Regions from separate parts of the Homo sapiens genome. Here region 2 is linked to region 1. The links are contacts of gene promoters, found by promoter capture Hi-C in human tissues and cell types (Jung and others, 2019). All regions are on one chromosome and are shown on one strand. Each heading gives the region's core, a stretch centred on a gene start or on the middle of the fragment in contact. The rest is flanking DNA. Distances are from core to core; before and after follow the strand shown. Region 1 holds the start of MAPKAPK5 (MAPK activated protein kinase 5). Region 2 holds the start of HECTD4 (HECT domain E3 ubiquitin protein ligase 4).

What was found. The method cuts DNA at HindIII sites, captures the fragments that hold promoters and counts their contacts. A contact is called where the count stands out against the background at its distance.
Region 2: a contact is called between the fragment with the promoter of HECTD4 here and the fragment with the promoter of MAPKAPK5 in region 1, in 2 of the 25 tissues and cell types used here (lymphoblastoid cells and stomach).

What each region holds. Positions count from the first base shown.
Region 1 is chr12:111,840,531-111,843,533 of GRCh38, reverse strand. It overlaps MAPKAPK5 (MAPK activated protein kinase 5), which reads right to left and starts at 1,306. Exons shown (of 14, transcript NM_003668.4): 1 at 765-1,306. The coding sequence starts at 800. MAPKAPK5-AS1 (MAPKAPK5 antisense RNA 1) reads left to right here and starts at 529. Exons shown (of 2, transcript NR_015404.2): 1 at 529-2,207. RefSeq lists enhancers at 621-720, 1,451-1,730 and silencers at 811-1,160, 1,241-1,420. The HindIII fragment of the contact is 25,902 bases long and covers 1-3,003 here.
Region 2 is chr12:112,380,829-112,383,927 of GRCh38, reverse strand. It overlaps HECTD4 (HECT domain E3 ubiquitin protein ligase 4), which reads left to right and starts at 1,497. Exons shown (of 76, transcript NM_001388303.1): 1 at 1,497-1,976. The coding sequence starts at 1,800. RefSeq lists silencers at 1,177-1,466, 1,577-1,846, 1,857-2,346 and enhancers at 1,354-1,853, 3,039-3,099. The HindIII fragment of the contact is 28,101 bases long and covers 1-3,099 here.

The DNA of each region.
Region 1 (3,003 bases), core at 57-2,556:
TCAATGTTTAATTTTCATAAGACTAATTTCTTAGCTACAGCTGTCAAGACAGATAACTGGCCCTGAGTGGGCAAAATGTGCCTTTAAAAAAAAAAAAAGTTAAAAACAGGTTTTAGAAAACTTATTTTATTTGTGTAATTTTCGAACACACATTTGCTTTTCTTTTGGTTTAAGTGCAGTTAAGTCACAGGAACTGTTAACTTTTCCTAAGTAAACTCAATGCTTCCTAGGAGAAAGAAGAGGAAAAAGAAAAAGGGGAGAATACACGGAAAAGTGAGGACAACCTATTCCCCAAAGGACAGGTTTTGTACGGCGAACCACCTTTTTCCAACTGCAGATTTCCAGAAGGCTGATTTCAAACAAATCGGGAGGGATGGATAAATTCCAACTCTCCAAGTTCTGTAGACCATCCGGAAGCAAATGCTGGCGGCCTTGGGGAGTGATCGAAACGTGTAGTAGTAGTAGTAGGGCTCTCTTCGTCCCATTCATTGACACTTAATAGTGTCTCCAGGCCACTCACCTCTGTTCCAGCTGAGCACAAATCACACTCACCAGGGAAGCTGGCGGGAGTCGGACACACACCTACACCCACACCCATAACCCTTGGCCCCAGGGCTGTAAAGCGCGATCCACGGAATCCGGGGGAGGCCGAAACCCGGTAGTCGATGGAACCTCTCACTGCAAAATCTCCCTGCTTTTTGAGGCTAGAGCCGAGAAGAACGCCACAGGACAACGCGGGGGAAGAGGGGGCACCTCCCCCTTACCTTGATGGCTTTGTCCATGTCGCTCTCCTCCGACATACTCAGTGGGGCCCCCACAGCCGGGAGAGGCGGAGGCTGCTCAGCAGCCCTGTCCCCGCGCGGCCGAGGGAGCAAAGGGCTCGGCACTCGGGCCCCTGGGCCTCGTGGCGACGGGCAGCAGCCGCCCCTCGGGACCGGTGGGGATGAGGACCCCGGCGCCGGCTCTGCTTCGGCGGGCGGCTCTAGGCTGGCGGCAGCAGCAGCGGCGGAGGCGGCGGCCCCTGGGGACAGGTCTTTGTGCTGGGCCCCACGCGGCCGCCTCCTAGCCTCATCCCCAGCTGGGGAGGCAGGCTCCTGGGGTAGGGCGAGGCGGGGAGGGCCTCGACCCGGGGCGCCGTGCAAGGGCCTCGCGGGGCCGCCGCTTAGACCTGGGCTCGCCAGGTCCTAAAGAAGAGCCTGCGCCTCCGCCTCCGCCGCCTGCACCGCCGCGAAGCCGAAGCCGAAGCCGAAGCAGAGCTCGGCGCCGCTGCTCCCGCCGCCGCCTCAGCGCCACACATCGCCGGGACACCCGCGCCGGGCAGCCCCGCCGGCCGCCCTCACGCACGCGCTGTGCCCCGCGGGAGCTCCAGGCCGCCCCTCCTGCCGCCCAGCTTCGTGACTCCACGGCCCCACGCGCCCCTTGCTGCCTTCCGCTGGGGTTTCCGAGCCGCCCCCGAACCGCGCACCCGACTTGCAGGCGTCCGCCTGGGCCTCCCTAAGACACGCCGCATACAGGACAGGCCCCTGGGCCTTCCGCGGCGATGGCGCTGCGCTAATGACGTCATAGGCCCGGACTCGCGTGAGTGCGCGTGCGTTGGGGCCTCAGCCTTTATCTCCACTCTGCGGAGATTCACGCCTGGAAAACGCTCTTCTGAGAGGATCTGTGGAGGTCAACCCAGGAGAGAGAAGACAGGACTGAAGCACTGAAAGGGTCCTGCCGTTAAGGGCGCAGGATTGTATAGAATATATAATAGCAGTAGCAGCTCTGTTTACGGAGCATTAACCTTACGTGGAGTTATTTCCTGCATTTCCTCCTTTCGTCTTTACAAGGTAGCCGTTTGGCGTCGTGAGGTATGGATGTTCCCATCCCTAATTTGCAAAATAGGTAACTGAGGCTCAGGAGAGCTAGACTAGTTTGTGCACAGCCGAGAAGTGGTCAAGCTAGAATGGGACCCCAGGTTTGTGCTCCCTACTCTCCACCGATAACCTATCAAAGGGCTTTGCAAGAGCTTTTGACTAATCGTCTGTCAATGGTTCTTCATTCACGTATTAATTGCACATCAGTATGTGCCAAATCTACTAGACATTGGAGAAACAGTAGGAACAACACATGGTACCGGCACATGGATCTTTCAGGAAAACGAAGTAGGTAATAAACAGGAAAAAGCCCGAGTCTGATGCTAAGAAGAACATAAACAGGATGCTGAGGTAAGAGAATAACTGGATGTGGGGACTTCTTCGTATTAGATGATTAAGGAAGGAATCTCAGGAGGTAACATTTAAGCTGAGACCCCTGAGGAATGAGAAAGGGCTGGCTATTGGAAATCCAAGGAAAGATTTCTGGGCAGATGGGTAGAAATTTTAAGGTGGAAATAAGCTAAATATGTTCAAGAATCAGCAAGAAGGTCATTGTAGCTGGAGTAGATCGAGTAGGAGGAGACTGATAAAGGGTGAGGTTGGAGGCTGGGCGCGGTGGGTCACGCCTGTAATCCCAGCACTTCGGGAGGCCAAGGCGGGCGGATCACTTGAAGTCAGGAGTTCGAGACCGGCCTGGCCAACATGGCGAAACCCCGTCTCTATTTCAAAAAAAGAAAAAAAAAAGTATAAAAAGGATGAGGTTGGAGATGTGGGCAGGGGCTGCATCATATGTGGCCTTTGGGGGTCATAATCAGGACTTTGGATTTTATTCTAAGCTATTGTAAGGTTTTAAAGTAAAGAGTGATGTGAACAAATTTGTTTTAAAAGATCACTCTGCTTTGTAGAGAATAGAATATAGGAAAGCAAGAATGGAAACAGAGCTATTAGGAGGCTATTGGAGAATAATGCAGATGAGAGATTATTACACTGTCTGAACTAAGGAGGTGGCGGTAAAGGTGTAGAGAAGATGGATTTTTTTTTTTAAACGGTCCCACTGTCTAGAGTGCAGTGGCGTGATCACAGCTCACTGCAACCTAGACCTCCTGGGCTCAGGCGATCCTCCCACCTCAGCATCCTGAGTAGCTGG
Region 2 (3,099 bases), core at 248-2,747, 540 kb before region 1:
ACAACCCTGTATATCCATCCTTGACTACGAGTCTGATTATTTCCTTCAGACAACTTCCTCAAAGTTGAATTGCTGGATCAAAGGGTATGCACCTTAATGTTCTCCTGTTATTGTTATTGTTATTATTATTATTATTATTATTATTGAGATGGAGTCTTGCTCTGTTGCCCAGGCTGGAGTGCAGTGGCATGATCTCGGCTCACTGCAACCTCCGCCTCCTGGGTTCCAGCTATTCTCCTGCCTCAGCCTCCTGAGTATCTGGGACTACAGGCATGTGCAACCATTCCTGGCTAATTTGTGTATTTTTTTTAGCAGAGACAGGGTTTCATCATGTTGACCAGGCTGGTCTCGAACTCCTGACCTCAGGTGATCTGCCCACCTTGGCCTCCCAAAGTGCTGGGATTACAGGTGTAAGCCACTGTGCCCGGCCTGTTTTATTATTTTTTAAGTGATAAAAATATACAAGTAATAGAGAACAATCTCATCTCAGTAGTTCCAGACCAGCCCCACACTCCCATGGCAACTCACCTTAAACATCTGGTGTGTATTTGTTCATGCATTGTTCTTTATACATATAGTTTTCCTTTCTTGTTTTTATAAAATGGCACTGGTGGGCATATATATATTTTTGGTGGGGAGGGAGGGATGGGGTCTCCCTCTGTCGCCCGGGCTGGAGTGCAGTGGCAAGATAATAGCTCACTGCAGCCTCCACCTCCTGAGTTCAAGAGATCCTCTTGCCTCAGCCTCCCGAGTAGCAGGACTACAGACGCTTGCCACCCTGCCCCGCTAATTTTTATTTTTTGTAGAGATGGGGTCTCCCTATGTTGCCCAGGCTGGCCTCAAACTTCTGGGCTCAAGCAGTCCTTCTGCCTTGACCTCCGTGCTGGGATTACAGGTGTGAGCCACCGCACCCGGCCTAGTGAGCATATTTTTAAGGTGTATGTCAATTAGTGTGGAACACTGATGGAACGAACATAGCAATAATTAGAATTGCCACTCATGGAGCACATATTAAGTGTCGGGCATTGAGCACCAAGCATTGTGGACAGACGCTTTATTTTCACCAGGTTTTGAGTGCTTACTGGGTACTAGACTTTTCAGTCAATATTAATCATCTACTATGTGATTCTACCAAGTGCTTATGAACAAGTGTGCAGCGCCTATTCTGCGCCAGCCTTTTGCTTGCATCTCATTTAAACGTGAAAACAAGGAGTGATCTCTATGCTCTGCCCAGGGTGGGGGCGCGGGCCCGAGCAAGGGGTGCACACCTGAGTAGGGACAGGACGGGGGAAGCGGCGTCCTCTTCCCTGGCGCGCTGCAAAGCCAGGGCTACCCTGAATGGCCAGGGGGAGAAGGGGCCGGCGGAGGTCAGGCCGAGGGCAGGCGGCAGCGAAGGGCTAGGCGGACGTCCAGGCCACCCGGGTGGCCTCGTCCGCGGAGCGGTGGGCGGAGCGGCGGGCGGGGCCTGTATTGTCCGCTCCGCGAGGCATGCCGGGAGCCCCGCCCCCAACATGGCGTCTCACTGACAGTTGGTTGCCGAGCGGCAGAGGCGGATCCTGCTCCTGAGGGCGGCGGCGGCGGCGGCGGCGGCGGCGGCGGCAGGGCCGGGGTCTCCCGGGCCGGGGTCGGGGGTATGGCGACTCGGACCGCCTAGGGCGGAGTTGCACGGGCGAGGCAGCAAGTGGGGCGCCGCTGGCGGGCGCGGCGGCCGCTGCCATGGACTGGTGATCGCGGCGGCTCCTGCTCCGTTTCCCCCGGCCGGGCGTCTGCTCCTCAGCGCCAAGCCTTCAGCCGGGGCCATGGGCTCGTCGGCGGCCGCGGCGGCGGCGGCGGCGGCGGCCGCTGACTCGGCGCAGTGGCTCTCGGTGAAGGAAGAGACCATCTTCCTGCACGACGGGCTGATCCGGGTCACCGACCTGGCCGAGCTGCCCAGCGAGATCCTCGGGGCCCCAGAGGCCGCGGACACCGACCTGGAGGTGAGCGAGGCGGCCCCCGGCCCCCGCCATCGGACTGACCCACTCGCCCGGCACCCCCGGGTCGGGCCCCCTCCTCGCCTCAGCCGCGGCCTCGCCTCCCGGCGGCTGCCGGGGCAGGTGTGTGTGGGCGCGGGGCGGGCAGGTGGGGCCGCGGCCGCAGGTCTGCGGACCGCCCGCCCCGCTCTCCCTCCCTCCCTCCTCGGGGCCTGGCGCCCGCAGGGGATTTCATTTGTGGTTTTCTTTTGAGCGTTCCGACACCCGGCATTTTATTAGGCTAGCGCCTGGCTCGGCCTTCATGCCCCAGAGGAGCCACCGCCACCACCCGGGCCCTCCCTCCCCTCCCCCACGGGCCCCCAGGACCCACTTCCAGGGCACACCCAGGTTGCTTAGCTTTGGGAACATTTTGATTTTCACGCTGTGTACCCTCCCATCCTTTTCTTCCCTAGTTCTGTTTTTTTTGTTTGGTTTGGTTTGGTTTTTTTCCGGGAGAGGGTAGTGGCAGCTGCGGGTCCGCGATGGGCAATCCAGCAACTTCTCTGTGTTGTGTCTCGGATGGATTGACACGGGGCCTTTGTCAGGGAAGCGGGCGCTGTGGACAGCGAGAGGGATGCTCCAGCGGCCCTCCATGCACTCTCGGGGAAGGGTCACTGGCGCGTTAGGCCGCAGGGCCTTTTTGTGTGCCCCGGGGGTCGCCAAGCATCCCGGGTTCAGAGCCGTGGCAGGTGCAACAGCAGATCTCATCAGTTGAGCTGCTTGGCCTTGGGGGCAGAAGGGAACCAAATATGCCTGGTTGGTGGGAACTTTCCATCGACTTCACTTGGGTTCGTGTTTGCCTAGAGGTGGGAATACTGGCAGTGTCGTTTCATGGAGGCCAACGGATGCTGACACTGCTCCCCTTCCACTTTGTGGGATGACATTTTGATGTGTAGGTAGCATGGGGTGTCATCAAATTTTTACTGCCGTAAGGAGAGCTTTCTGGGGTAGGGCGCAGAGAGGATGGCCTATCTTCTGGCTATAAACGGCATGCGAGGGATCTTTTGTGTTTTGCGGTTTTGCGTGCAGTTTGGCTTTACGCACAACGAACATTTATAGAAATGAATTAAAAGCCATTACTGTGTGTTTC